Regions from separate parts of the Homo sapiens genome. Here regions 1, 3 and 4 are each linked to region 2. The links are contacts of gene promoters, found by promoter capture Hi-C in blood cells and fetal thymus (Javierre and others, 2016). All regions are on one chromosome and are shown on one strand. The core of a region is centred on a gene start or on the middle of the fragment in contact, and the rest is flanking DNA. Distances in the headings are between cores, read along the strand shown.

What was found. Contacts are between HindIII fragments. The CHiCAGO score rates a contact against its expected background, and 5 or more counts as called.
Region 1: a fragment that was not itself captured here is called in contact with the fragment with the promoter of KCNQ5-AS1 in region 2 in 16 of 17 cell types (M2 macrophages, total B cells, M0 macrophages and 13 more); the score reaches 21.6 in M2 macrophages.
Region 3: a fragment that was not itself captured here is called in contact with the fragment with the promoter of KCNQ5-AS1 in region 2 in 11 of 17 cell types (M2 macrophages, naive B cells, M1 macrophages and 8 more); the score reaches 10.9 in M2 macrophages.
Region 4: a fragment that was not itself captured here is called in contact with the fragment with the promoter of KCNQ5-AS1 in region 2 in 3 of 17 cell types (naive CD4 T cells, naive B cells and fetal thymus); the score reaches 8.5 in naive CD4 T cells.

Annotation. Positions count from the first base shown.
Region 1 is chr6:72,606,078-72,613,008 of GRCh38, forward strand. No RefSeq gene overlaps it. Among named protein-coding and RNA genes, the nearest start is that of KCNQ5, 13 kb to the right of the region's middle. The HindIII fragment of the contact is 2,027 bases long and covers 2,999-5,025 here.
Region 2 is chr6:73,139,712-73,146,053 of GRCh38, forward strand. It overlaps KCNQ5-AS1 (KCNQ5 antisense RNA 1), which reads right to left and starts at 3,803. Exons shown (of 5, transcript NR_046621.1): 1 at 3,715-3,803. The region is part of intron 10 of KCNQ5 (potassium voltage-gated channel subfamily Q member 5); the gene reads left to right. The HindIII fragment of the contact is 1,820 bases long and covers 3,516-5,335 here.
Region 3 is chr6:72,584,086-72,590,862 of GRCh38, forward strand. No RefSeq gene overlaps it. Among named protein-coding and RNA genes, the nearest start is that of KCNQ5, 35 kb to the right of the region's middle. The HindIII fragment of the contact is 8,574 bases long and covers 507-6,777 here.
Region 4 is chr6:72,557,736-72,564,847 of GRCh38, forward strand. No RefSeq gene overlaps it. Among named protein-coding and RNA genes, the nearest start is that of KCNQ5, 61 kb to the right of the region's middle. The HindIII fragment of the contact is 2,965 bases long and covers 4,374-7,112 here.

The DNA.
Region 1 (6,931 bases), core at 2,762-5,261, 530 kb before region 2:
CAGTACAATAAAGAAAAGTTCCAGCAAATAGGATGTTCACTGTGGCATCAATATTATCAGACCACTTTTGCATGGTTTGGTACATTGTTCCTAAATGCTTAGCTTTGGGCCTGGTTCTCTAACCCTTGCCTCAATAATGTGTGCAACTCAATACTCTCCAAATAAACTCCTTTTAATTTAATTAATCAGAGCCAGCTACTGTTGTTCTCATCTGAGAACCAAAACCAAAACGAAAGTCAATGCCAGGAGCACTACAAGGAAAAAAGGGCCCAGTCATTTACAGCCTGGGAAGCCAGTGACTCTTGATAGACACTATAGGCAGGTAGTTGCATGCTAGATCTGGGGTATAGACAATGTGCCAGCTGAGGTTGGAATGTTAGAGCAAATGCTACCAAATTTTCAGAATATTTGTGTGTAGTAGACTTAACTTTCTGTTTTCAGGAAATTGCTACAAGAAAGAGATGAAAACCTTAATGATTAGCAACTGTTCTATTTCTAAGAAAGATATGTTAAGTCTTCCACTGTAATTGTTAATTTGTCAAATCCTTCTTGTAGTCCAGTGTATGCTTTATATATTTTGAACCCATATTATTTCATCCATACAAATTTAGAATTGCTGTATTATCCTGGTGAGTTGAAACTTCTATCATTATGAAATGCCTCTTTAATCTCTAGTAATGCTTTCAGCCTTAAAATCTATGTTGTCTGATACTGGCATGACCATGTCTTTTTCTATCCTTTTACATTCAACCTTCTGTATCTGTGAATTTAAGGTATGTCACTTGGGTAATCAAGGAGGTGGCCTATGGTAGACGTTGCTGGTTGTCTGTCTGTTCCCCATTTGTTTACATGGTTCTCAATTATTTCCAATATATTCAACTAAAATAGTTCACTTTCCTTACCTTACTTGCAGTTGTGGTTGGTCATGAGATGGTTCTGGCCAATAAGCTGCAGGTAGAGATTCATCAGGAGGACACCCTTTCTGAATAACAAGCAAAGTCCATTTTTCCCTTGAGCTTTTCCCTTATTCTCACCTGGAATTTCATACATAATGTTTGGAAACATAGCTGCCACTGTTGTGACCGTAAGGATGAATGACACATGCTAAGCAGGTGAAAGTGGCAAATGGAAAAAGTTAGGCCTTACGTCCTTGTGGAGGCTTGCCTGCCTGACTCTTGACTCAAGTCTTCTCTGCTTGAAACAAATAGGCCTTACTTAAACCAGTGTTTTGGGGAGGGGGTCTCTATTAGCAGCTGAACACATTCTTTTTTTTTTTTTTTTTTTTTTTTTGAGACGGAGTCTCGCTGTCTCCCAGGCTGGAGTGCAGTGGCGCAATCTCGGCTCACTGCAAGCTCCGCCTCCCGGGTTCACGCCATTCTCCTGCCTCAGCCTTCCGAGTAGCCAGGACTACAGGCGCCCACCACTACGCCCGGTTAATTCTTTTCTCTATTTAGTAGAGACGGGCTTTCACAGTGTTAGCCAGGATGGTCTCGATCTCCTGACCTCGTGATCCGCCCGCCTTGGCCTCCCAAAGTGCTGGGATTACAGGCGTGAGCCACCGCACCCGGCCCACATTCTTAAGATACAATTGTAATGTTAGGATTCAGAATCTCCAGGAAAGGGGTATCTGTACACCTAGAAATACCAGGTTCAGTTAGGGAAGTGACTCTGTTCTTCTCTCCTGTGTTTGAAGCCAGAATGATCAGTGTTTATGGGCCTTTGCAGATATATCTTCTTCTCTTATATGTGGCTGTTAATAAAATTTCTAAATAGACAACCCTCTATTCCTAAAAGCATTTTCTAATTTGGAGAGATATATGGTTTTGTGGTTAAGATCACAGTTTCTGGAGTCAGCGATTTTTCATATCCTGTTCATATCCCCACTTTTTGGTTACTGCTTGTGTGATACTGAGCAATCTCTTAATGTTTCTGAGCTTATCTCCACATCTTAAAAATGGGGAGAGTAGTAATGCCCATGTCATATAGTTGTGGCAGGATTAAATGCAGTTCTTCAGAAAAGCATGTAGGAGAGTGTATATTGACTTTTTTTTTCCATCAAGAGTTAAAATTTAAAACTTGGAACTATTTTAGAATTTCTGCATTGGTTGAAAGAAATTTAAACTCCATTCAAACTCTAAAATTCAACAGCTCTGTTAAATATATGAGGGTTGTGTGATGGAGAAAATCAGAACAAAAAGTTTAAAAAAAAATAGAATGGGAGAGGGAGGCTGAGTTTATTCAGATTCATGTACATGTATGTTTCTGTATATTTACTTTAATATAACTTAGCTTCGGAACTACTAAAAACATGATAACTCATAGTCTGAGTGATGTTGGATTTGCCAGTTATGTTCCTTTACAAGAAGATATCTTAAAATAAATAAACATTCCAATATGTTGTGACTCTTAATTTTTTCTCCTAATACTTTTCTTGTTTTCTCCATAACAAAGCTGGAAGCCATCCATAAGTGTTATTTAACATTTACAGAGCAACTAATAAGTGCAAGGCACTGGCATCTATTATACCATAACACATTATTGTCTCTCATTTTGAAAATGAGAAAACTGGGGAACTGAGAGACTAAACACTGCATCCAGATTTACTTGTATGTTAAATAGGGTTATTGGGATTTAGGTTAATCCGTGTAAAATCTCTGATTTTGTCAGTATAATTCAAAACAGAAAACAATTTTGCACAAGTTTAATCATTTTTTAAGACAAAAAATTAGAACATCGTTCCAGGAGTATTAAGGAAATAGGAGTACTTTCATAATTCAAACTTGAAGAGTAGCGTTATTTTTCTTAAAGGAATGACTTTCTTTTCCAGAACAAAGAAACTTAAGGACCCCAGTAGATCAGTGAAGATGGAAATAAATGCAATGTTTTGAGGATTTATGTACCCATGAGCTTACAACCAAATTGAATATGAATATGTATATACATAAAAAATAAATACTACCTATGGAAAACCTATTTTTGATTTAGCAGATTAAAAACAAGCTTTTCCAAAAGAGAGGTAAATTTATTCAATAAGAAAATTCATTAAGCCACTTCTGGCCTTTTATTATCTTCAAATTCTAACAGATTTCCTTCTAACCAGAGACCATTGTTATACAAGAAAATTGTTAGCTGCTATAGTACATTCATATATTACTATATGATATAGTACATTCGTATATTACTATACGATATAGTACATTCGTATATTACTATACGATATAGTACATTCGTATATTACTAACTGAAGTAAAAAAATGTCAGTTTGATACAGCTCTTCTAAGGTTATGAATGTGTATTTTTATTACATTTCTCAAATATGATGCAGCAAACCACAATGGAAACACTTGCATTAAAATGACACTCAGACCAAATGTTCATGCTTGAATCTCTCATAAAATGCCTCTAATGAAGTGGTGAATAGGCATCTATGAACTCTAGTTATTTTAATTTGCTAATTGATATTTTATTACCACCTTAATCTAAAGAGCCCTTGTATAAATTTATATGGAATTAGATAAAATTATAATAAACCTATAGTGTCATTTGAGGCATCTATATTCCAATGCAATCAAGAAAAAAAGTCTCAGAAGAGCCCTCAAAACCCTGAACCAATTAGCCATTTATTTGTTCTCTGGATTTTTTGCTGCCTCTTTCATTTCTATCCTATAGTAGAAGCAGGAAGTTATGTTCATTTTTAGGTATACAAAAATACTGTTATTATTTTAACCTTCTAGAATATTGCAAAGTCTGACATGCTTACTTACCTGTTGACTTTCCCTGGTTTTGTATACATTGAAAGATTTTACTTTAAGTGGAAAAATGTTTTCCATATGAACATCTAGCATCATTTCCCCAGGTGTATTATAAAAACTAAAATTCTAAATATAGAAATAAATGGTACGTAGACCAACAAATATCACCAAATGGCAGCAAGCAACACTTCCCACCTCAATACCTTCAAAGGCTGACCTAAAAAGTTTGTTTAAAGCAGGGTTTCTCAACTTTGGCAATATTGACGTTTTGGGCAGGATAATTCCTTTTTTGTGGGGAGCTATCCTGTAAGTTGTAGAATGTTTAGCAGCATCCCCGGCCTCTACAACCTGGATGCCAGTAGCAACAGTTTCCCACACCCTCCCCCATACTATGTACTAAGCCAACCAGAAACACCACCGGACATTGCAAATATCATCTGCGGGGCAAAATTACCGCTGTTGTAAAGAAGTAGCTCCAGATGAATAAATGTTTATAAAACATATTAGTTGGTTTGGGGTTGTCAAGTTTTAGGTAATCTTTCTATCATTCCATGTTATGTATTTAAGTCTGCTCTAAAAATATTTTAAATCTTTCGAAAAAATACAGTAAACTATGGCATGAATTAGGTAGGGATAATGTTTGTTCTACAGTTTTAACATAGGTGGTAGGAACTCAGCAGTTGTAGGTTGGATTGAGGAATGGATAAATTAAAACAATTCTCATTAAGGGAATGAGATAGGGGTTTGGTCTAAACTCAAGCATGATTAGTCATGACCCAGCTAGCCACTGCAGAACTGAACACTGACAGCCCAGGCAAGGGGTCCAGGCAAGGGCTGGGGAGAATGGCCTCAGCATCAGGTGTGGGCAGGAAATAGTCTGCTAGGCAGAAGAGTGTATTCTTTTTTGTAGAATTATGCACTAGCAGGTTATTCAATGTGTATAACACAGAAATGCTGGAGCCAAGATGACATCCAGAGGTTCAGTAGGTAGGCAGGCAGGCAATTGACATTGTGGAAGTAGGTAAACCTGTAACAGGACCCTAGTCACCATTTTAAGATATGGGTCAAGACTTCAATTCCTGAGAGATGACTGAAACAAAAATGAGTATATCCCATGATAGTGTACTGTTAGGCGGCAGAGATAAAGCCTTAAGCATAGAGATGACTTTAGTATATTTTCCAGAATTGAGGTTCTGGCTGTACTCATAGTCTTCCCTTGTACTGCATGAGTAGATTCATGGCAGTTTGTATGCTTTAGTGGGCAATATTTTAAAGCTTAGATTGCAATTATATTAATACATATATATGTGTTTATATATGCACTCACTAAACTACACATACATGCATGCTCTTGGCTTTAAAATATTCAAACTCTGCCAGGTGCCATGGCTCACACCTGTAATCCCAGAATTTTGGGAGGCCAAGGGAGGAGGAGTTCAAGACAAGCCTGGGCAACATAGTGAGATGCCGATTCTACAAAAAATGAAGGAAAAAAAAAAAGCTAGATGTGGTGGCTTGACACTGTAGTCCCAGCTACTCAGGAGGCTGAGGTGGGAAGATTGCTTGAGACCAGGAGTTCAAGGCTGCAGTGAGCTATGATCACAGCACTGCACTCCAAATTGTGCAACAGAGTGAGACCCTGAGACCCTGTCTCTAAAATAAAAAATAAAAAATAAAAAGTATCCAAACTCTGGAAGATTAATTTGGAATAGAAACACCATTATTCTGAGTAAATGTGATCCCATAATATAACCATATGAAAAATGTAATGAGAGTTCAAGGCTGTTTTCTAACAGAAAGACCTATAACAAAGATCCAAAATCTCAGTTCAAGGGCTTTATAGTGACCACAAACCTTGCTGTCCTAGTACCTCCCTGATAGAAGTGTCATCAAGGTACTCCCAACCAAATCATGAGAAATAATGCAGATTACCAGGGAGGTCGAGGAAGTTCTAGCTATTCCAAATTTTCCCATATATCCCATATAAGTCATCCTGAAGATATCCTCAAGAGAATCTTTGTAAAATTCATTCCTTTGGCTGGGCGTGGTGGTTCATGCCTGTAATCCCAGCACTTTGGGAGGCTGAGGTAGGCAGATCACGAGGTCAGGAGTTTGAGACCAGCCCGGCTGATATAGTGAAACGCTGTCTCTAAAATACAAAAATTAGCCGGGTTTGGTGGTGCGTGCCTGTAGTCCCAGCTACTCAGGAGGCTGAGGCAGGAGAATCGCTTGAAACGTGGAGGTTGCAGTGAGCCAAGATTGCACCACTGCACTCCAGCCTGGGCAACAGAATGAGACTCCATCTCAAAAAGTTTAAAAAAACAACTCATTCCTTTAAGAATTACAGCCCAAGGGCCCATAATCTGGGATTGATTAGCTAGGTTTTTAAAAATTATTTCCAAGAGTCTGTGAGCCTCAAAAGTTGTAATTGTATGCAAAATTATACGTTTTTTAAAACTTTTTTGAAGGCTTTCATCAAATTCTCAGACCTCTGCCGTTCAGAAAAACTTTAGAATCATAAATTCACAGATATTCTAGAATAATGAATTCAACAGCTCTCACCAGACATCTGAAATATCACAGATATTTTAGAATGAAAGGATTAAATATCCATTACCATTTGAATATTGCTGTTAAAAGTAGAATGATATGCAAAACTCTATACATTAAGGTTTACTTTGTTTAGTTGTATCTAGTAGCCCTTAATAAAATATACATCTATGACTGCATAGCCTGGTACACTATGAGACATAGTTGCTTTCATCTGCTTTTAAACTTCACAAATAGTCACCTGAACGAGATCATCTGCAAAACTTAAAGTTTCTCTTCTGGGTTATCTCAAGCTTTATTCATATAATCCATTTTTTTTTACAAGTTTACATTACTTTTTTTTTTGTATCTGCTAAATTTCAGCTAAATATTAACAATTATGGAAGCTAATGTTTCAGAGAATTAATCAGCTATTATTTCAAATTGCAGGCTAAATCACAAATGGAACCCAAGCTAAATCTTGTTATACATAAATATTAGTAGTAGTTAACATTTACTGAGTACTTATTATGTGTCAGCACTAAGATAAGACCTTTACATAAACTATTTTAGCTACCCCAAAAGTCCTGTGATAAGGATATTATTATCCTCACTTTAAACATGAAAGAAACAAAGACTTAGTGAGATTT
Region 2 (6,342 bases), core at 2,553-5,052:
TAAATTAGTATTTCAATCATATAATCCTTCCTCACATACAGTCAGCCCATAAATGTTCTATCACCACCACCACTAAGGGAAAACTGGTACAGTTCCCTTCCTCTCCACCTCCTCAGCAGCTTCCTGACACCTCGCTCCTCAAGCTGTTTCTCTTGGTGACTCCTTCTTCCTTCTGAAGTTAATAACTAACCCAGTCTCACCTAAAAATAGCAAAAAAGTAGAAATACACCATGTGGGGTGCCAGAACCCTCAAGTCTTCTTAAAGATAGTTCATCCCCTTCCTCTCTTCTCTTAACTTCTACCTAGGTTCTAGGCCCACCAGTCTACCACAACCCTTGTTTGAAAATATCAAGATCACTGAAAACAGTGACAAAAAGGCAGCATTTTAATGCAATGGTTTTGACAACTATCCTGAACTAACAGTCTCTTGTATCCATAATGGCCTATTTTCTTCCAAGCAGTATAAATCACAGACTATCAGTATTTTCTATTTGACTAATTTATGCACACGAGCTTTCATCTTACACTAATCCTCTTTTATGCTTATTTTCCAATGGCATCTTCCTCCCTCATGTTTTTCTCAGTCTCCCCAGTTGACATTTTTGGTGTTTCCACAAAATGCCAAGCACCACGCTGCACATAGCATTTTTCCTGACTTTCCATAATGATGGCCCAACTTCAGCCAGGCCTTGATTATAATTTTCCACATGATGCTTCCTGGCACTTTCTGAAATTGCCTGATAATGACTCTGCATTGTGTTGACAGAAATAATTCTTGTTAAAGCAGTATCCTATTAGGGCTTCCACTTAACCTGTTTGTGCAGATTTCTGGCCTGGGATTCTGACTGAGTAGGGCACCCATTCCTGTCATCCTCTATTTGTAACAAAATCTGAGGGTTTTCTTTAATGTTAAGAACAAAAGGATTTATTGAGAATGACTGGATCTAAACTCTAGAAATTTATTCTTCATATTTAACTCTATATTCAGCGTAATTGTTGGAGTAATTCTATGCAAAACCCTACAAAGGGTATTCAGTAGGATTCTAAAACGCACTTTCAGTACTTCCTTAACTTATTGGTAAAAACCATTACCTGAAGAAATTGTCTCAATTCTGATCCATAGGTGTCTTTTTTCTTTAGTTGTCCAGGTTCTTTATTCAGTCCCTCAGGCATCTTCATTCAAAGACATATCCTACTCCTCTGCTGTGTTTCATATGTACTCTTGTCCCCCTAAGATCTGCTTCTCCTATTGGGTGGAGAGTGACCTCTCAATCTCTGGTTTCAGACCCCAAGTGACTACGTTATTTCTTGGATTTCTGAGAAGAGTTGTGTCTTAGTTTGTTTGGACTGCTATAAAAAACATACCATAAACTAGGCAGCCTATAAACAACAAATATTTACTTCTCACAGTTCTGGAAGCTGGAAGTCCAAGATCATGGTGCTGGAAGATTCTGTGTCTGGAGAGGGCCCACTTCCACGTGATGGAAAGGGCGAGGTTCCTCTTGGGTCTCTTTATGAGGGCACTAATCCCATTTATTAGGGCTCTGCCCTCATAGCCTAACCATCTCCCAGAGCCCCCACCTCTTAATACTATCACTTTGAGGGTTAGGGATTTAACATATAAATTCTGGGGGGACACAAACATTCAGACCATAACAGGTTGCTTCTTCCATTACTTTTTGTGAAATGCTTGTTCTTAGTTTTTAGTGACGGGGAAATGCTTTTCTATTTTGATAAGACTGAAGTTCCACCTGGCTTTCTACTCTAATCCAAGTGCTCTTTGTATTATAGAACAGGATTTCTGTCAGATTTCTCTAGGTTCTGTCCCATGGTTTGTTGTTACTCTACAGTGATAAGGAAAATTATATTCTGTTTCTGTTGGTGGATAAAATAGCTTCCTGCTTGAGCTCTGAATGGATTTCATCTCCTCCCTTCCAGCAGAAACTGAGCTGCCAAATGACCTTCGAGTGCTGCCTTAACCATACCTTTTGGCTTCTGTAGATCCAGGTTTCATTGAGAAACCCAGGGTTATAAACTGGAGCCCTATATTTTGTTTCATCAGCAAAGTGTGTGTGCATGTCCACATTGATACTTTAAAATGAATCTGAATGCTGTATTAGTTATCTATTGTTACATAGCAAATTACCCTCAATTTAGTGGTTTGAAATAACACATACTTATAATCTCACAGTTTCTATGGTCAGGTATCCAGAAGCAGTTTAGCTGAATGGTTATGGCTCAAAATCTCATATGAGGTTGCAGTCAAGCTCTTGGCTGGAGATGCTGGGAGAGGACCCATTACCAAGCTCAACTGAGCATTTGCTAGCAGGCCTTTTATTTCCTTGCCACATTATTCACACCCTAGGTTGCCTGAATGTCCATATGACATGCAGCTGGCTTCCCCCAGAGAGAGCTGAGAGAGTACGCAGAGAGAAGCTGCAGTCTTTTATGACATAAGCTCAGAAGTGTTATGCCATCGCTTCTTTCATGTGTAAGTGGTCACAAAGACCAACCCTGTACAGTGTAGGCAGGGACTATACAGGGGGGTAATACCAGGAGATGAGGGCCACTGGGGACCATGTTAGAGTCAGGCTACCACAAATGCCTTCAGATAGATTATGTCTTTTAAATTGCAGATTTCAACCAGTCCCTATTGTCTTTCCAGGAACCCAAACCACCAATTCCCCATTCCTTTCGACCTCTCCGTTACCTACCTGCCTTTAACGACATGGGTTTATAACTTCTGGTCTAACCATTTTATGTCCAGTATCCTTTGTATTATATCTCAAAAAAAAAAAAAAATCCTGGCCTCAACCTATAGCTACGCAATTATATTCCACTCTTAGTGCAGACTCTCAAAAGGAATATTAACAAAATATTGAGTATGTGATTACTGCAGCAACAAGTTAAATAAAATGAGGAGGCCAGGTGCGATGGTTCATGCCTGTAATCCCAGCACTTTGGGAGGCTGAGGGGGATGGATCACCTGAGGTCAGGAGTTCGAGACCAGCCTGGTCAACATGGTGAAACCCTGTCTCTACTAAAAATACAAAAATTAGCCAGGCGTGGTGGCGGGCACCTGTAATCCCAGCTACTCAGGAGGCTGAGGCAGGAGAATCACTTGAATCCAGGAAGAGGAGGTTGCAGTGAGCTGAGATTGCACCCTTGCACTCCAGCCTGGGCGACAAGAGCAAGACTCCATCTCGAAAATAAATAAATAAATAAATTGAGGGAGCAGGACATGAACTAGTCAGTTGCAAAACCAAAGTGTCATAACTTCTAACGCAGCTCTCTTTCTTGTACAATGTATGGCCCCTCTTCAGCTTTTCAAGAGGTTGAAGATATGTTCTTGGTTGCTTCAAAGGGCAGAAGCAGAACTAAAAGGTGTGTGATACCAATATTTAGTTCAATATAATGGCAGCTTAGCACTTAGAGACTCCACAGCAATTGAGTGGATTCCATAATTGGAAGCATTCAAATCAAAGTTGGATGATCAACAGTCAGGAATTTCTGGAAGCTTAAGGAGATCAAACCAGAAAACCTCTAAGAAATTTTCTTCCAAATCTGAGTTTTTATAATCTGCTCTTCTGGACCAATGCAAAGTATCTTCCTTAGCCATTAACTCGTATCCTCACTAGCAATTCTATACTAAGAAATAGAAGAGGAAAGCAAGGATTGGCTGAGGAATGCCAGGAGTGAGTTTTCTGTCCTTACCCTAGTTTCACGTCTCTTTGATACCGAGAAAAGTGCTACCCGCTGCTTCTTGCCTCTCATTCCTCCCACTGTTTCTTTTCCACTTTCACTGTCAGCCATAGTCCTTTCTGTCCTAAGAAGTGTATCAGGTGTGTCCCACCCACCATTGTGAGGTTTATGTGTGTGCTCCATAGCGGCTCATTCTTAGAACTTGAATAAGCCCTCCACTGGATTTCAATTCATATCAGAAGGTATTTGAGGGCTGCTACTCAGAGCTAGCATGTTTCTGGGCATTTAGAAGGCAGGGAGGAGGCGTGACAACTGTCACCCCAAAGAACTTACTGTTTGTCTGTAAGTTTTACCACCCCAGCCCACCTCAGTTACAGTATTGATTGGCACTGAGGGGAACAAAAGGCACCTTCCTCATTCTTCAGACTTCATAGTTTTCAGAAATAACCTGTGGGTGACGTCCAAAATTCGCACAAAATAAGCACAAAATTAACCATTACACAAATCACAGAATTTAGCCCATATTTAAGAGAAGCACTTTTCAGCTGCATGGTGATTTTTCCTTCATATATCTCAAATTATTTCCTTCAAAGTCACACTTAGTTGTCTGCTGCATAAACAGAAACCAATATGACACAATTTTAAAATTATATTTAATCGCTTTCATGGTGTGCTCTACTTGGTAAAGAAGGGGGGAAACAAGGTTAAGTAAAGGCCAGGATCCTTTTTCTGCAATGGATGACTGACATGGGAAAGAGATGAGTTACCCAGGCTTTGCTTTTTGCTACCTGCAGTATAAAACTCCCTGACATTGTCCCAAATTGCTTTTACAGGTATTTTATTTTCAACATCTAATTTGTTCGGCTTTTCTTCCCTTGCCATCTTTTTCTTCTTTTGCCATGTATAATGCATAACAACAATTTCTGAACTCCAAAAGCATAGAAACCTCAGAATAACATTACCTGGGAAAAATTAATCTCTCTACCTCCAGCTACCAAGAGAATCATTTGCACATGAAACCCTGAGATTTGCGTCTTTCATTAATCTAATGCAGTAGCAATTGTTATACCACATCGTTCTATTGGAATTGATGACTAATCATTCCCAAAACTCTTTTGAAACTATTGTTCCCATAATTTTGTGTTTTGATTGAAAAATGTCATGACCCTATATCTCTTCATGTTATCTGTTGCATAGCTAACCCTCTCCCTCAGATTTAGTGGCTTAAAACAGCAACCATTTGTTTAGCCCACAATTCTGTTAGGCAGTTCTTCTGGTCTTAAGTGAACTGACTCATGCTCTGTGTTCAGCTGCTGTGTTGGCTGGTGCTGACTGGACTAAGGTGGTCTCAGTTAGAATTACTGCTCTTTGCTCATGTGGTCTCTCATCCTCCAGCAGGCTGGGCTGGTTCACATGGTGGTGGTGGGTTCCCAAGAGCAGTACATTGATATCTGAAGGCCTCTTGAAGTTCAGGCTCAACCTATCACAGTATAATGTCCACTATGTCCTGTTGGTCAAAGCAAATGGCAAGGACAGCCCACATGCAAGAGACAGAGAAAGAGATTCCACCTCTTCATGTGAGAAGCTGCAAGTGTCGTGGCCAGTATTGCAATCTACCATCCCAGCCATTTAAAGCTTATTTGCTTTTAGTATTTTCAACATCCTGTTGGTTCTATGAAGACAGTGTCAGTGTCTAATTGACTTTTTTATTTCTCCCTGTAGTATCCTTCACTCAAAGAGCCTAAGAAAGAAAAGGAAAATAGCATTGTTAGCACCTCATGTATCGAGGCATTGGCTAGACATTTTCTATGAATTGGCTCATTTAATACACACATAGCCATTTTGCAGATAAGGAAATTGAGACTCAGAAAATGTAAATAACTTGCCCACATAATTCAGTCTAAATGCCAAAACTGGGGTTTGAAGTTGCACTTAGGTCTAAGTTCAAAGCTTTTTATGTTCTACCATGCATGCTGCTTAGCATGTTTTCTTTCATATAATTCATGCTGCTAATGAAACAGTATAAACCAGCTGTATGTTAACTGCTAGTGAAATGATTTATTGTCTTCTTTTTCAGTAAATATGGCAAGTCTGCTCAATTTATTCCCTTTATCATTGCATACACTACAAATATTCTCTCCCTATACCTTCACATGTCAATTAAGGTATGCAACAGTAATTTCCATTTTTTTTAAACAATGCTTATGTTACCATCTCTAGACAAGTTAGTCCAGATGATTTTGGGGTTAACATGTTGGCATTTCCTGGCACTATTACTGCTAGCTGAATAAGAGTTGAAAGTTGGGGAAAAATTTACCAGATCTGTATTAGTTTTTTCGCACACTGCTATAAAGAACTACCTGAGACTGGGTGATTTATAAAGAAAAGTTTAATTGACTCACAGTTCCACAACCTGTACAGGAAGCACGCCTGGGATGCCTCAAGAAACTTACAGTCATGTCAGAAGAGCGAAAGGGAAGGAAGCGTGTCTTTACGTGGTAGCAGAAGAGAAAGAGACAGAGAGAATGAGAAAGTGAGAGTGAAGGGGGAAGTGCCACACTTTTAAACCATAATCCACCCCCATGATCCATTCACCTCCCACCCAGTCCCTCCCCCAACATTGGGAATAACAACTCAACA
Region 3 (6,777 bases), core at 3,544-6,043, 550 kb before region 2:
CTGATTTATTACCTAAAATATGTAAGTATAATGCCCAAAGAGGACTGCCCCAGTCTTTATCTCTTAAACTGTCTGCTGGTAACTCTTATTCTGTAACAATCTCTTGAGCTAGTTTTTCTTTGCATTCCAGAGAATTATGCCTTTCTTTTACCCTGTCTACAGACCATTCTCATCTGGCAGATAATTAATATATTAAAGAATCTTATTCCTTGTAGTGTTTTAAAATCATCACTTCCTAACAACTACACAAGCCATTTCTTCAATTTTGGAAATGAAGCAGACTATGTGGTAATGCAAAAGGTGTTTAATTATGTATAAAACAGATCATAGTTGCAAAATGATAAAGAAACTAGAGGCATTATAGTAAAATACTGCAAGGAAAAAACATGATTAAAAGTGCTGCAAGCTAATAACAAATATATTACAAAAATACTTAGATTGACAGAACTCTTTAAAGAAAATATCAGTCATTGTTTCTAAAAGCCAACTGATTACAGTTGATCAAAAGCTTTGACACCAACCAGTGCTAGGTATGAAGAAACAATTTTTTCTCAGAGAGCCTTTTTTAGTGCTTTATCAAGTATAATCTGTCTAATATCTATCTGCAGAAAAGTGGCGAGGCATTCCCAAGACTTTCTTGGATTCGTGCTTTGATGCCTAAAATTTAAACTTCCCTGGGTGCGACCATAACATATTTTTTCATCTGTTGATTATAGTGATTATAACTTTAGGACAGCATAACTGTTTTTATTTCCTTTTCAATTCAATTTTCTGATTGTAATATTCACTCTATTTTGTTGACTAAACTAGATCAGATTAATTTTCATGGCAAAAGAAGTGGTACAGTGTATGAAAATATTTTCTGTTTTGTTATGTTATAAAGCACTACCCAACCCAATATAATCTCATAAAGTTTAGTATTAAAAAGGCACCTCTAATCAACTTTTCAAAATAATGAATTAATGTGCCTAAAAATATAAAGAATGCTTCCAGCATGAACATGGCCATGAAAGTCACCATTTTCCCCTTTTCCTATGGGAAAATACAGAAAAGCGACAAGAACAAAACAAAACCTGAAATCTACATTTTTAGTGAAACTAGGAAACAAATATATTCCAGACTCAAATCACATTTAAGGGAGTCTAAAGAAAAAAAAATTACATTACTACTGGCAGCGTATAAGAGGTCTAGTTCTTCCATAACCTTACCAACATTTGGTATGGTCAATGATTTCAATTTGATTCATTCAAATAGATGTGTAGTTCTATTTTGTTATAATCTTAATCTATATTGTGCTAATGCAGTGATGCCGAACACGTTTTCATATATTTATTTGCCATTTAGCTATATTTGTTGAAGTATCTATAAAAATATTCTATTTCAAAATTGAGTTGTTTTTCTCAGTATCGTGTATTGTTAATTTAAATTTTGCTAATCTGGTGGTAGGCAGTGGGGGGTAGTACTGTTATCTCATTAAGACTATAAGTAATATTTCCTTAACTGTAAAAAAGTTAAAAACATTTTTAAAGGTTTATTGGCCTTTCTGACACCTTTTTGGGCAAATGCCTATTCATGTTATTTTGCCCATTTTTTTCTGTTAAATTTTCTCTTTTTATTGATTTGTAGGCATTCATTGCATGTTATGAATATGAGTCTTTGTTAGCAAATGTCTTCTACTCTGGCTTGTCTTTTAGTAATTTTATAGCACCATTGGATGAACAAAATTCTTACTTACTTTTTTAAAAAGATTTTTTTGTAGAGTCAGGATCTCGCTATGTTGTCCAGCCTGTTCTCAAACTCCTGGTTTCAAGTGATTCTCCTGCCTCAGCCTCCCAAAGCACTGAGATTACAGTGAGCCACCACACCTGGCCCAAAATTCTTACTTCTAACATAAGCATGTTTATTGATCTTTTCCTTTGTGGTTAGTGCTTTTTATGTTTTATTTCAGAAATATTTTTTTTCCCAAATATCATGAATATATTTCCCAATGAGGTTTGCGGCAGTGCACAGTGGTTCACGCCTGTCATCCCAGCACTTTGGGAGGCCAAGGCGGGTGGATCACGAGGTCAAGAGATTGAGACCATCCCGGCCAACATGGTGAAACCCCATCTCTACTAAAAATACAAAAATTAGCTGGGTGTGGTGGCGCATGCCTGTAGTCCCAGCTACTCGGGAGGCTAAGGCAGGAGAAGCTCTTGAACCCAGGAGGCAGAGGTTGCAGTGAGCCGAGATCACACTACTGCACTCCAGCCTGGGTGACAGATTGAGAATCTGTCTCAAAAAAGAAAAAAAAAAAAAGTCCTTTTCCACTGCTCTACACTGCTTAATTCAATGCTCACAAATGCATGACTGTTTCTAGGTGCCCTCTGCTGTCCCACTGGGCAGCCTTAGTTATTCTATATTGTGTTAATGTTACTAAGTCTTGATATCTGGTAAGGATATATGCTAACTTGTCATATTTTACAAACTAATATGTAATATGTGTATCATTTTGCTTTTTATTCCTTCATGCATCTCACATCTTCCATGTAGGGTCATTTTATTCTTATTACGTAAATCCTTTAGGGTTACATTTTAGTGCGGTTTTGAAGGTGGTGAACACTCTTATTTTTCTGTGTATCTGAAGATGCCTTTATTTTACCTTCACTTTGGATAATAACTTCACTGGCTACCTATCTTAAAACTTCGAAGCTAGTATTCTACTGACTCCTAGCATCCTTAGTTGGCATTATGAAGTTATCAAACTGCTGTTCTTTTGGAGGCAGTCCATCTTTATTTTTCTGTTGTATTTAACATGTTTTCTTTGCTTAGGCATTTTGCATTTTTGCTATTGTGCATCTACATGTTTGTATATTTTTTAATTCAAATTTTATTGAGAGAATTATTGATTCAAATGTAGTTATAAGAAATAATACAGGCCAGGCGCAGTGGCTCATGCCTGTAATCCCAGCACTTTGGGAGGCCAAGGCAGACATTATCACAAGGTCAAGAAATCAAGACCATCTTGGCCAACATGGTGAAACCCCGTCTCTACTAAAAATACAAAAATTAGCTGGGCATGGTGGCACACGTCTGTAGTCCGGCTACTTAGGAGGCTGAGGCAGCAGAATCACTTGAACCTGGGAGATGGAGGTTGCAGTGAGCTGAGATCGCGCCACTGCACTCTAGCCTGGCAACAGAGCGAGACTCTGTCTCAAAAAATAAACAAATAAATAAATAAATAAATAAAAGAAAGAAAGAAATAATGCAGAGACTGGGTGCAGTGGTGCCAACACTTTGGGAGGCTGAGGTGGGAGGCTGTCTTGAGCCCAGGAGTTCAAGACTGATCTGGGCAATATAGTGTGACCCCTTCTCTACAAATAATAATAATAATAAAAACTATTAGCCAGGCGTGGTGGCACATGCCTGTAGTCCTAGCTACTCAGGAATCTGAGGCAGGGGGACAGCTTGAGGCTGCAGTGAGCCATAATCGTGCCACTGCCCTGCAGCCTGGGCCACAGAGTGAGAGTCTGTCTTTTAAAATAATAAGAAAGAAAGAAAGAATGCGGAGATATTTTGTGTACACTTTCCTATTTTTCTCAATGTTAAAATTTTGTAAAACTATCGTATAATGCCACAGCCAGCATTTATACAATCTACCAATATTATTCAGATTTCTCTAGTTTTACTTGTACTTATTTGTGTGCATGCGTGTGTTTAGTTATACACAATTTTATTACACGTATAAGTTTGTGTGTCTACTACCTAAATCAAGATAAAGAATACTTCCAATACCACAAATATCCTCCATTTTGCCCTTTTATAACTACATCCATCTCCCTACTACAGTCTCCTGGCTCTAAGGGGACAAACTATAAAGATCAATTTCTACTCATATTATTTTAGATCTTCCCATATTAGTTTAGATACTAAGAACATGTCTATAAGACATGTTCTGTGTCTTTTAGCATGTCTTTTGCACTTCCTATCTTTTTGTCCCCTTCATGCTGCAATCTGAAAAGTTTATTCTAACCTATCTTCCAGCTCACTAATTTTCTTTTTAATCTAGTCCGTTGTTTAATCTTTCCACTGAGTTCTTAATTTTAGTAACAGTTTCAGGATGAGAAGATTGGTTTGATTGTCTTAAAATCAGTAACACTTTTAAAATAACTTTCTGTTTCTTTTCTTTTCTTTCTTTTTTTTTTTTTTTTTTTTTTTCTGACAGGATCTCCCTCTGTCCCCCAAGGCTGTAGTGCAGTGGTGCGATCTCAGCTCACTTCAACCTCCGCTTCCAGGGTACAAGCGATTGTTGTGCCTCAGCCTACCGTGTAGCTGGGACTACAGGCACGCACCATGACCACTGGCTAATTTTTGTACTTTTAGTAGAGATGGGGTTTTACCAGGTTACCCAGCCTAGTCTTGAACTCCTGACCTCAAGCAATCTGCCTGCCTCGGCCTTCCAAAGTGCTGGAATTACAGGCGTCAGCCACCGTGCCCGGCTTAACTTTCTGTTTCTTAAGCTCGTTTTGTTGATATATATTTTTAGCTTGTAAGCATAAGTTGTTTTATAATATGTCTGTTAATTTCAGTATCTGAATTTTTATGGATCTCTATTGTCTGTTTTCAAGCAAGGGCTTCTTTACTTCTGGTTCATGCTTATTCTGAGGATATAGCTCTTTTCAGACTCTGCAGTTAGGTAGAAACTGATTTTGGAAGTGTGTTCCCTTGTATCAGGATGCTGCCAAAACCACAGTTCAGTTTCACAGTTGTTTCTTTCAATAGATAAATACCCTCTGGGCAAAAGCAAGTTTTAGTTTGGGACATAAGTCTCTGAATTTTTAGTTTATCCTAGATTTAGCCAGGTAATTTTTTACTATCTTGTTAGCTCACTTACGCTTTTCAGAAATCTTTGAAACATTTTATCTAGCTTTTTAAGTTGTTATTTCAGGATGTTGTGGGCCCACCATACATTATTCTGTATTATTTTAAAGTTTGAATCATGTAAAATAGTATGAATTTAGAAATTACACATGCACACACCCCCACACCACACACAGGTTGAGGAAGGACTCTGAAGATGTACTTGTGAGAATAGGAAAATTTGGGAGAATTTTATCAAAGCTATCCACACCATAATACTCTGTAAAATCAGCCACACAACCATGGAGTCTGTGTTTTGTTATTTACTTTTGAGGCTTAAAAAAAAAGATGTACAGATTGCCAAAACTTCTTGGCACAAATACAACTAAAACACAGAATGCAGCTTGGGGTGAAGGAGAACAGATTTATTTTCCATATTAATCACATAAGTTCATTTACTACTGAATGTTTCTAAGGCAGTTGAATTTAAAATAATCTATCGGGTTTTTTTTCTTTAGTTTTAAAACTGTGCTTTCAAATTAGCTAAAAGGAAAGATGATAATGGGTAGTGTTACATTCAATGTGTCTTCACTAGCGTGCTGAGCTCTGGAAAAGTCACTAAATGGAGTCTAGGAAGGTAAGAGAGTGCGAGCAGAGTCCTACACAAGAAAGCTCATGCACTGATCTATAATCAACTGAAGACAGGCCTCTATAAGGCAGTAACAACTTCAAAAAGCAATAGATAAGTGGATCTGAAATGAGGCCCTTGGTCAGCAATTATGCCTTAAGCAAAGAGTTATAAATTATAAGCTGCTTGAAGAAGGAACAATTAAGATAGCACTAATAAGAAAAGATAAAGACACCCCCAAAAAGCTGAGGGGAAAATAACAAGAGTATATATTTGACAAACATGTTCTTATTTACTACCCTGTAAATAAAACATCAATTTAGGTGGTTAGTAGTACTGACGGAAAAACAGTAAGATATTTTCATATCAAAAGAACTGTAATTTCAATGAAGACAAAAGATGATTCAGGATATCTATAAGTCCCATCGAACACTGTCTGCAAGAAAAAGATCATCTGTGAACAGACTGCAAATTCTCTCACATCAAGCTGTACTTTAAGATATCTTAACCCTGTACATACAGCAATCTTAGAAGGTCAAGAATAGTAAAGATTGGTGAGCTGTCATTATGATGCTGTTTTTCTCTTCTCCCCTCACCAAAAAATGGCTTCTCCTGTACCAAAAAGACATTTTAGAAATTACAGATGGGTTAACTTATTCAGAATCAGATCTACTCTGAGAGCCTATGGAATATCTTATAGGAAATGAACTAATAAAAGTTTCTCTTAGTTATCACATTTTGAATATGAGTTTTCCCTCCAGCACTTACTGAAGATAGTTTTTTTCAATTATTTTCATTAAATATTGAGTAGATACAAAAATACTTATAAAATATATGTAAAGTACAAAAATAGCAATGCAACCCTTAAAAAAACACATGTTTACCTACAACCCAGTTTAAGAAACACAATATTACTATCACTTTGCAAATCTCATAAATGCTGTTCACCAATCCTATCCTATTTCCTGGCCCTCCCTACCATTCCAAGTAACTGGAATTTCTGTATCATTCCTTTGTTACTAAATATGTTTTCTTTAAATAGCTACCAAATATGTTTGTATATGCAAACACTATATTGTTTATTTCTGCATGGTTTAGTACTGTATTTAAACGAAATTATCAAGTATAGCAAAATCTTCTTGAATTTGGCTTCATTGCTCCTATTATAAGATTCATTCATGTTGTATGTGGTTATAATTCATTCATTTTACTGCTATTTACTGTTTCATTGTAGGAATATCCCACATTTTATTTATTCAGTCTACTATTGGGTTGTTTCCAGGTTTTGCTGTTAACAGACAGTGCTTCTA
Region 4 (7,112 bases), core at 4,606-7,105, 580 kb before region 2:
ATTATATAGGAAATTAGATAAGATTTATGCCTTAAATATTTTTCTAATTGATTTGAAAGCAGAGAAGGCAACAACACTGCCAAAGAAGTCAAGCAAAGGACACCTGGCCCTTCTGTTTCTTGGCTGTTCATGAATGTAAGAATGAAAATTTTGTCTTTTCTCAAAAATAATTAATAACCAATTTTCCCAGAGGAATTATAAGTTTAAGAAGTAGGCTTGGATACATTTCAAAATGGAATGTTTTTCGTACATACTAGGATACTATGTATTTTAGTTAGGTTTATAAAAACAATCAGAAATAATAAAGATTTCTTGAATTGATGCTTTATCCACACATTTGAAATTATCTTAGGATATGGATATATAAAATAAATGAAGATTTAGCCACAATGAGGTAAATTTATAACTTCTTAAATGACCATGTCCTGAAGATGCTGATTTATTGGTGCGTGGGTGGGATTCAGGGCTCTTGTCAGATTCAGGTGATGAAGTTAAAGTAATCTTTATCAATGTAGCAGATTAGAGAAAAATGGAAAAATTAGTTAATACAATGTAGAATATAAGCATTATCCCAAATGGTGTTGACAAGCTGCAATGGTAGACCAAGCCAAAGAAAATATATTTAATAGGAGTAAACTGTAGTAAAAATGTATATGTGAAAACAAATAAATACCAGTTACCAAAAGGGAATTTGGTCTCTGCATTAATAGAAATAGAGTGTTTAGAAGGAGTGAAGTGATTATTCTCGACTTTGAACTGGTCTGCTTGTACTAGGGAAATTTTGTATTCACTTTTGAGTGCCATATCTTATAGAAGATGTTGAAGAAAACAACCCGGGATAAGAAGTTTCCTCGAATCAACATACTATATGAAATAGTGGGAATCTAAGCCAAGGAAGAGAAGACATGGCAGGGAGGGGAAGATGACATCTCAATAGTGTGTACAAACACTTTATGATCCCTCATGTGAGTGAGGAAATGATTCAATTTGCACATTGTTGTTTGTGATGGTGAGGATATGGCCAAAGAAAGGAAGAATTACCTAATAGTTATTCTTCCTTGGAGATAATTAAACTAAGGCAAAATGCTATAAAGGAGACTCAAATATTTAACATAGACTTACATTAGATTAATTTTAGGATTAATTCCAAATCTAAAGATGTGTGTGTATGTGTGTGTGTGTGTGTTTCAATTTATTTACTGTTTCCAATTAATACGTTTTTTAAGATTTAAAAAAATTATTATTTCAATAAACTTTTGACTTAAACCAGAACACAGGCAGAGCAAAAACAAGAATCAAGACAGTCTAGAGATACTGAAGTTGAGAAAAATATTAAAACAAAGAAAAATCAAATATGGTGACCAAGACAGCCTTAATGTTCTCCCCAGCTTAACTAACCTTTAGACAGGCTTCTTCCTGATTCTAGGCCCTGACTTCCCTTTTCTTAGAGCATTTACTTTAGAAAACTTTCAATTGTACATTCTTTCTCTGCTTCTTTGAGATGTATATTTTCTCCCAGCCTCTTGCCAGTTTAACAACCCACTAATGTCTTTCTCAAGGACCTGGGAGCTATTCCTCTGAAAGGTAATTACCAAGAAAAATAGTGCTGCTGTCTCCCAGTCTTAGAGGTGGGGAAGGAGACTAACTTTTTTGGGCACCAATTAGCAAACACAGATGGCATAATCACAGAGAAGAACATTTGCAAATTCAGAAATAAATAACTCAATGTGCTCAACACATCCCATTGATCGTCCTCCTCTAAACGTCCTCCGGCATTTTTCCACTAGCTCACTCCAGTATTTAAAAACTCTCCAGCTTTTAGTTTTAGTAGAATTTACTTCAAATTGGGGTCTCTCTTCCAATATTGCAATTGTCCTGAATAAAATCTTCCTTGCCTGTTTAACTTTCTGCAGTGCAATTTTTGCTTTGACGATGGTAGCCAGGGTAATGTCCAAGGGTAGAATGCCAGGCAAGAAACCAAAGTCTATGCACGTACTACCATCCAGCAGACATTTTTTAGTGTCTATTGGCAGTCTGCCATAGCAAGAAATATAGCATGTATAGTCTAGTAGCATAATAAGGCATTGCCACAAATGACTTTAATTCAGTTGAAAATGAGCAGTAGCTTGAGAGATCTTATTAAGTTCTATGAAAGAATAATAAAATTCTATGGTTGATTTTAGAAACCAAAGGCCCAAGAAGCGTATGTAAAACTGCAGCAAACAAGAATGAAGCAGGAAACTTTTGATATAGCTAATACAGGGGCAAGAGTCAATTACCAGGCATAAGTAGTAGCAGAGTTGTTGAGCAGATGACATAAAGTACAAGAGGTGGAAAGAATGGCAGAACTTAACTCTCCGCACCTCTTTATTACTATGTGGTCACCATAGAGATCTGTGTGTGTATATATATATATATACACACACACATATATATATACACACACACACATATATACACATATATATATGGTCTATGTGGTCACCATAGAGATAATATATATCATACACACACACAAACACACACACACACACACACACACACACACACACACACAGAGATATGTTCCAAAGAGCTGGAGAACTAGGGTGATCAGTTGTCTGATTTAATAGTATAAACAGTAACAACAACAACCAATAATAGACAGGGCCATGCCAAGTGTTTCACATACTTTACATCATTTAATTCTTCCTGAAATCAAGTGGAGAAGATACTGTTATTATCCTTACTTGGTAAAGAAATTGAGCCTCAGAGAAGTCACACAGTCAGCAGAAGCTGAGTTGACATTTAATCTAAAGCTGATTACAAAACCCATAGTCTTATATAATTAATCCAGTGGTCCTCAAATCTAGCTAAATATTAAAATCACCTGGAGTTCTACTGAAAACATCAATATCTGAGTCCTTTTCCTGGAGATTAAGATTTAATTGGTTTGGTGGGTTTGGGGAGAGAGGGGAAGCAGGCATTTGTATAAAAATGTAAAAAATAAAATTAACCTTTCTCAGGGTGACTGTAATATGCAGCTAATGTTGTAAACTATTGCGCTAGGCTATTCTGTTTCTCCTCCTACCATTTGTGTGGCAGAAATAATAGCATAAATCAATACCAGCAGAGACCAAACTGGCTTTTCACTGCTTCCTCACCTCTAATTCACCTTAGAAAATAACAGTCTGGCTTCCACACTCACCATCTGAGGCAGGAATTATACAGGGTGGTCGCAGAATAGAAAATTCCAGGCAGCAATTGCACATGACTAAGTGAAAGCAAACTGTTGAAACAGCTACAGAAGCTAAGGACTGATAAGACCCTGAAAAACAGGGTGTGGACTGAGCTGGCTAAGACTGACTGGACCCAACACGGCTTTGGATTTGAGCTAGGTTCCTCCTAAGACCTCATTATCTACTCATTGACAAAACTAAATCACACACCCGCCAGTGCCACGACAGTTCCAAGAATAGCCACATGGGGTAAAATTGAGTGTCACCACAGTTCTGAGAAATCTCCATTTTTTTCCAGGAATTTCATGAAGAGTCCACCCCCTGGTTATAGAAATCCATAAATCTAGAAACCCCAAACTCTATTGCATGACTCTTTCTTGAGTACACCCATATTACCGTCTCCCGAGTATGTACTTTAGCTTTGCAATAAATCTCCATACTTCCACTATTTTCTGACTCATCCTTGAATTCTTTCTTGCAATGATGTCAAGAGACTGGACATTGGCTGTAATCGAGGTCCCACTGGCATTTGAGGACATCCCACAGCGTACCAGTATCACATCCACTTAGACTACAACATGCTGCTAAGACTGCCAATTAGCTCCATCCTGACAAATCCACAGTCCTTTTAATATTATATCTTCCTGCATTATTTGACACTAATTAGAGAATCATTCTTGAAACTATAACTCATTTTGTAAAATAACTTACCTATGGAACCATCCTGTGCTTCTCACTGGATTTTCTTCCTTGGCCCATCTCAGTAATTTAAGTATTTCTCAGGTTTTCCCCAGGATTCCATATTCACCTGCTACCTTTCTCATTCAACACAATCGCATTCCTGCAGAGTTATCTCACCCACTGCACATTATCAACTACCTGCTAAGAAGAACAAACTCCACATTCCTATCCCCAGCCAAGTCTCTGTCTTGGGCCTCAGTTCTACATATCCAGATGCCTATCCCAAATATTTCCACTTGATTCATTGTGGACCAAGGGTGCCTGGACCTTGGGAGTTAAAACCCAGGAGCCATGGGTCTTCTATTTTATGCAGGACCTGTTCTTTTATGCATTGTGTAGGGGGCATGGTGATCACTTACTCTTCAGTTCCTGAGAGTGAAATAAACCCACCATGTCTTCCAGGCACACCTCTAAAGCCTCAAGGCGTTTGTCCTGTTGATGTCAAAGCAAAAGTTTACTAAGAGTATTATTTTAATAGAATGTTAAAGAAACAGAAATTAGGAGAAGTGTATCCTGCCAGGTCCTTTGCCTGTTTCCAGGTTCTTCTATACACAATTATTCTATTGGGACCAAAAGCAAAGGAAAAATTGCTTGCAATCATGGTTGGTTTGCTGTTTCCTTATTCTGTCTCTTTGTGCTGCTAACTATAGCTAGAATACAATATTCAGGATTTTTTTCCACTTCAAATATTTAAGAAATATAATTTTTTCCCAATTACTTAGTTATATATAGCTGATATATTTTTCCACTTTTTTTCTCATTTCTGAGATCACATTTTTAAAAATATGCTGACTTCAATAGAGACAAATTGTCAGTTATATGTTCCAATTTTAAGATAAATTAATGTTCATTAATTTTACTACATAAGGTGAAAATACACTGAAAGAAATCACTATATTATTAGTTATTTAAAATTTTATAGCATTCTTAATAGTTACAATATTTGTGATGATAGTGATAATAACAGGTAAGCTATTTTCTTTAGTGACACTTTTTTGATAATTTATATTGTCTATTACTAAAATGTTCATCTTAAAATTTTTTCTCTAATATATCAGAACACAAAAATATTATAGCACCCCTTTGGTTACTTTTACTAGAGTTATGAATGAGTAATAATTTAAAGTTATATAAATTAAGTATCTGGCTCAATAATTAAAGTCCAAATTTATCAGTTACAAACCCAGGAGGTGCATGCTCAATATTAAGTAATAATTATATGGATTACATGGATAATTATATAGATGAGTGCACCATTTCATTTATAATAAAGTACAAGTGCTTTGCAATTTATATTAAGACAAAAATCCAATTAGGAGATTTGCAAATATAGTCATTCTATTACTGAATATGTTAACTTTATTATATGAAAATCATTTCCTCAGTGCTAAATTATTAAATCAATTTCGGTTACAATTTCCTTTTGCTTACAAATTTATATGTATACTGTGCATACTTGACCTAATAATAGTCAACAGATTATTCCTTTTTGCTTTATGAGTTTAACATAAAATATCATTTTTACTGTGCTCTGTGTAAGACTTGCTGAAACTTTCTATGAACACAGAGATTCTCTAAGATACTTTAATTTTTCATTTCCCATTTCAAACAAAGCTCTAAACTGGGAACTTTAAATAAGATGGTTTATAGTCTAATTTGTGATAGAAAAATTTGAGTCAGATGAAATCTATTTATTGCCTTTTTCAATATTAATCATTTTATAGATAATTAATAGGGAAAACACTTTAGTTTCATGGGTAATTTACTGCTAAGAATATTCAATAAGTTATTCAATTAAGTATGTAATAGGTACGTTTATACAAAATCAAGAAATGAATTTTACCTGTTCTTTCAAAATGGAAGCAAACTCTAAAATTAAAAAGTCTTGTGATCAATGTGACTGACTGATGCGCTCCAGTTTATTCCTGAGTAATAGTTTTAGGAAGAAACCAGAACTACCTGTACACTATCCCTGGTCAGTCCTAGCAGTCAGGTATTTGGCCAGTGCCCACGTGGCCTTCTATGACCCACAGACAATTTCATTGACTACCAAGGAGTCTGCCAGACAGTTTTTTCCCTATAGCTTGTGGGCCACAGAAATGCCAGTGCAGACAGAAATACCCTGAACTGCCATCACAACTTCTCTTTTTGGTTATCTAGCAGGAATAATCACATGAAATTAAGTCTCCAGTCTCCACCCTTTGTCTCATATTTTCCCATCAATGCTATCCGCATTTACCAACAGTGGAGAATTTCTAGTTTGTTATAGAGTTCAAACATTAAAAACAATAAAATAATTAAATCAGTGGAATTTTAAGGGTAAAACCAATAGTATTGGTTTCCATGTGTATAGGTTAGGATTTTGCAGTCACACGCCAAGGAAATGGATTATCAGAAGATTATCCTATGGCTCTAATTAGAAGATATGAGGAGTGATATGCCTCCAGTTTGTGAGACCGAACACTGAGATTGATAAATTCATAGTGTTCTCTGAGGAAATAGAGGTTATTTGGAGACCTCCATCAATTTAAAAAATGGCAACAATGTGAGTGCTCTGAACTCAGTCTCTGCAGATATTCATCCTTCAGGCTAAATCCCCATTCTAGGGACATCCTCCTGGAAGTTAGGGACCAGATCCGTCTAGGTTTCTTAATGTTTCTTACAGCACATTTCTTGTACAATGGATATAGTGTGATGTAGTGACTAAGAACACAAATAAACTTTGGAGTCAGAAAACACTGATTTGATTCTCTGTTATACCACCTATTAGTTATGTGATACCAGGAAGTTTACTTAACTTTTATTAACATTAGGTTTTTCCTGGTTATAAAATGGAAACTATAATGCCTAATTGTAAGAGTTGTTGACAGAATCAGTTGAGAAATCCTGTGCAAATAAATTTGCATTATGCCTTGTATATAGTAAATATTGAAATAGTAGCTAGATTACAAGCATCTTTATATTCTTTGATTATTTCTAAACTCTTTAGAAGGTAATGGAGTAGAAAGAGAAGAGAATGAGCCCTTCTACCTTAGTGTCTTAAGTTATAGCTTCCTTTCCTCCAATGATGTGTATCTTTCTTGATTTCCTAACAACCATACTAGAGGGTCCCTCTCACTCAAAGTACATGATTTTGTAAGTTCAAAGTTTTTT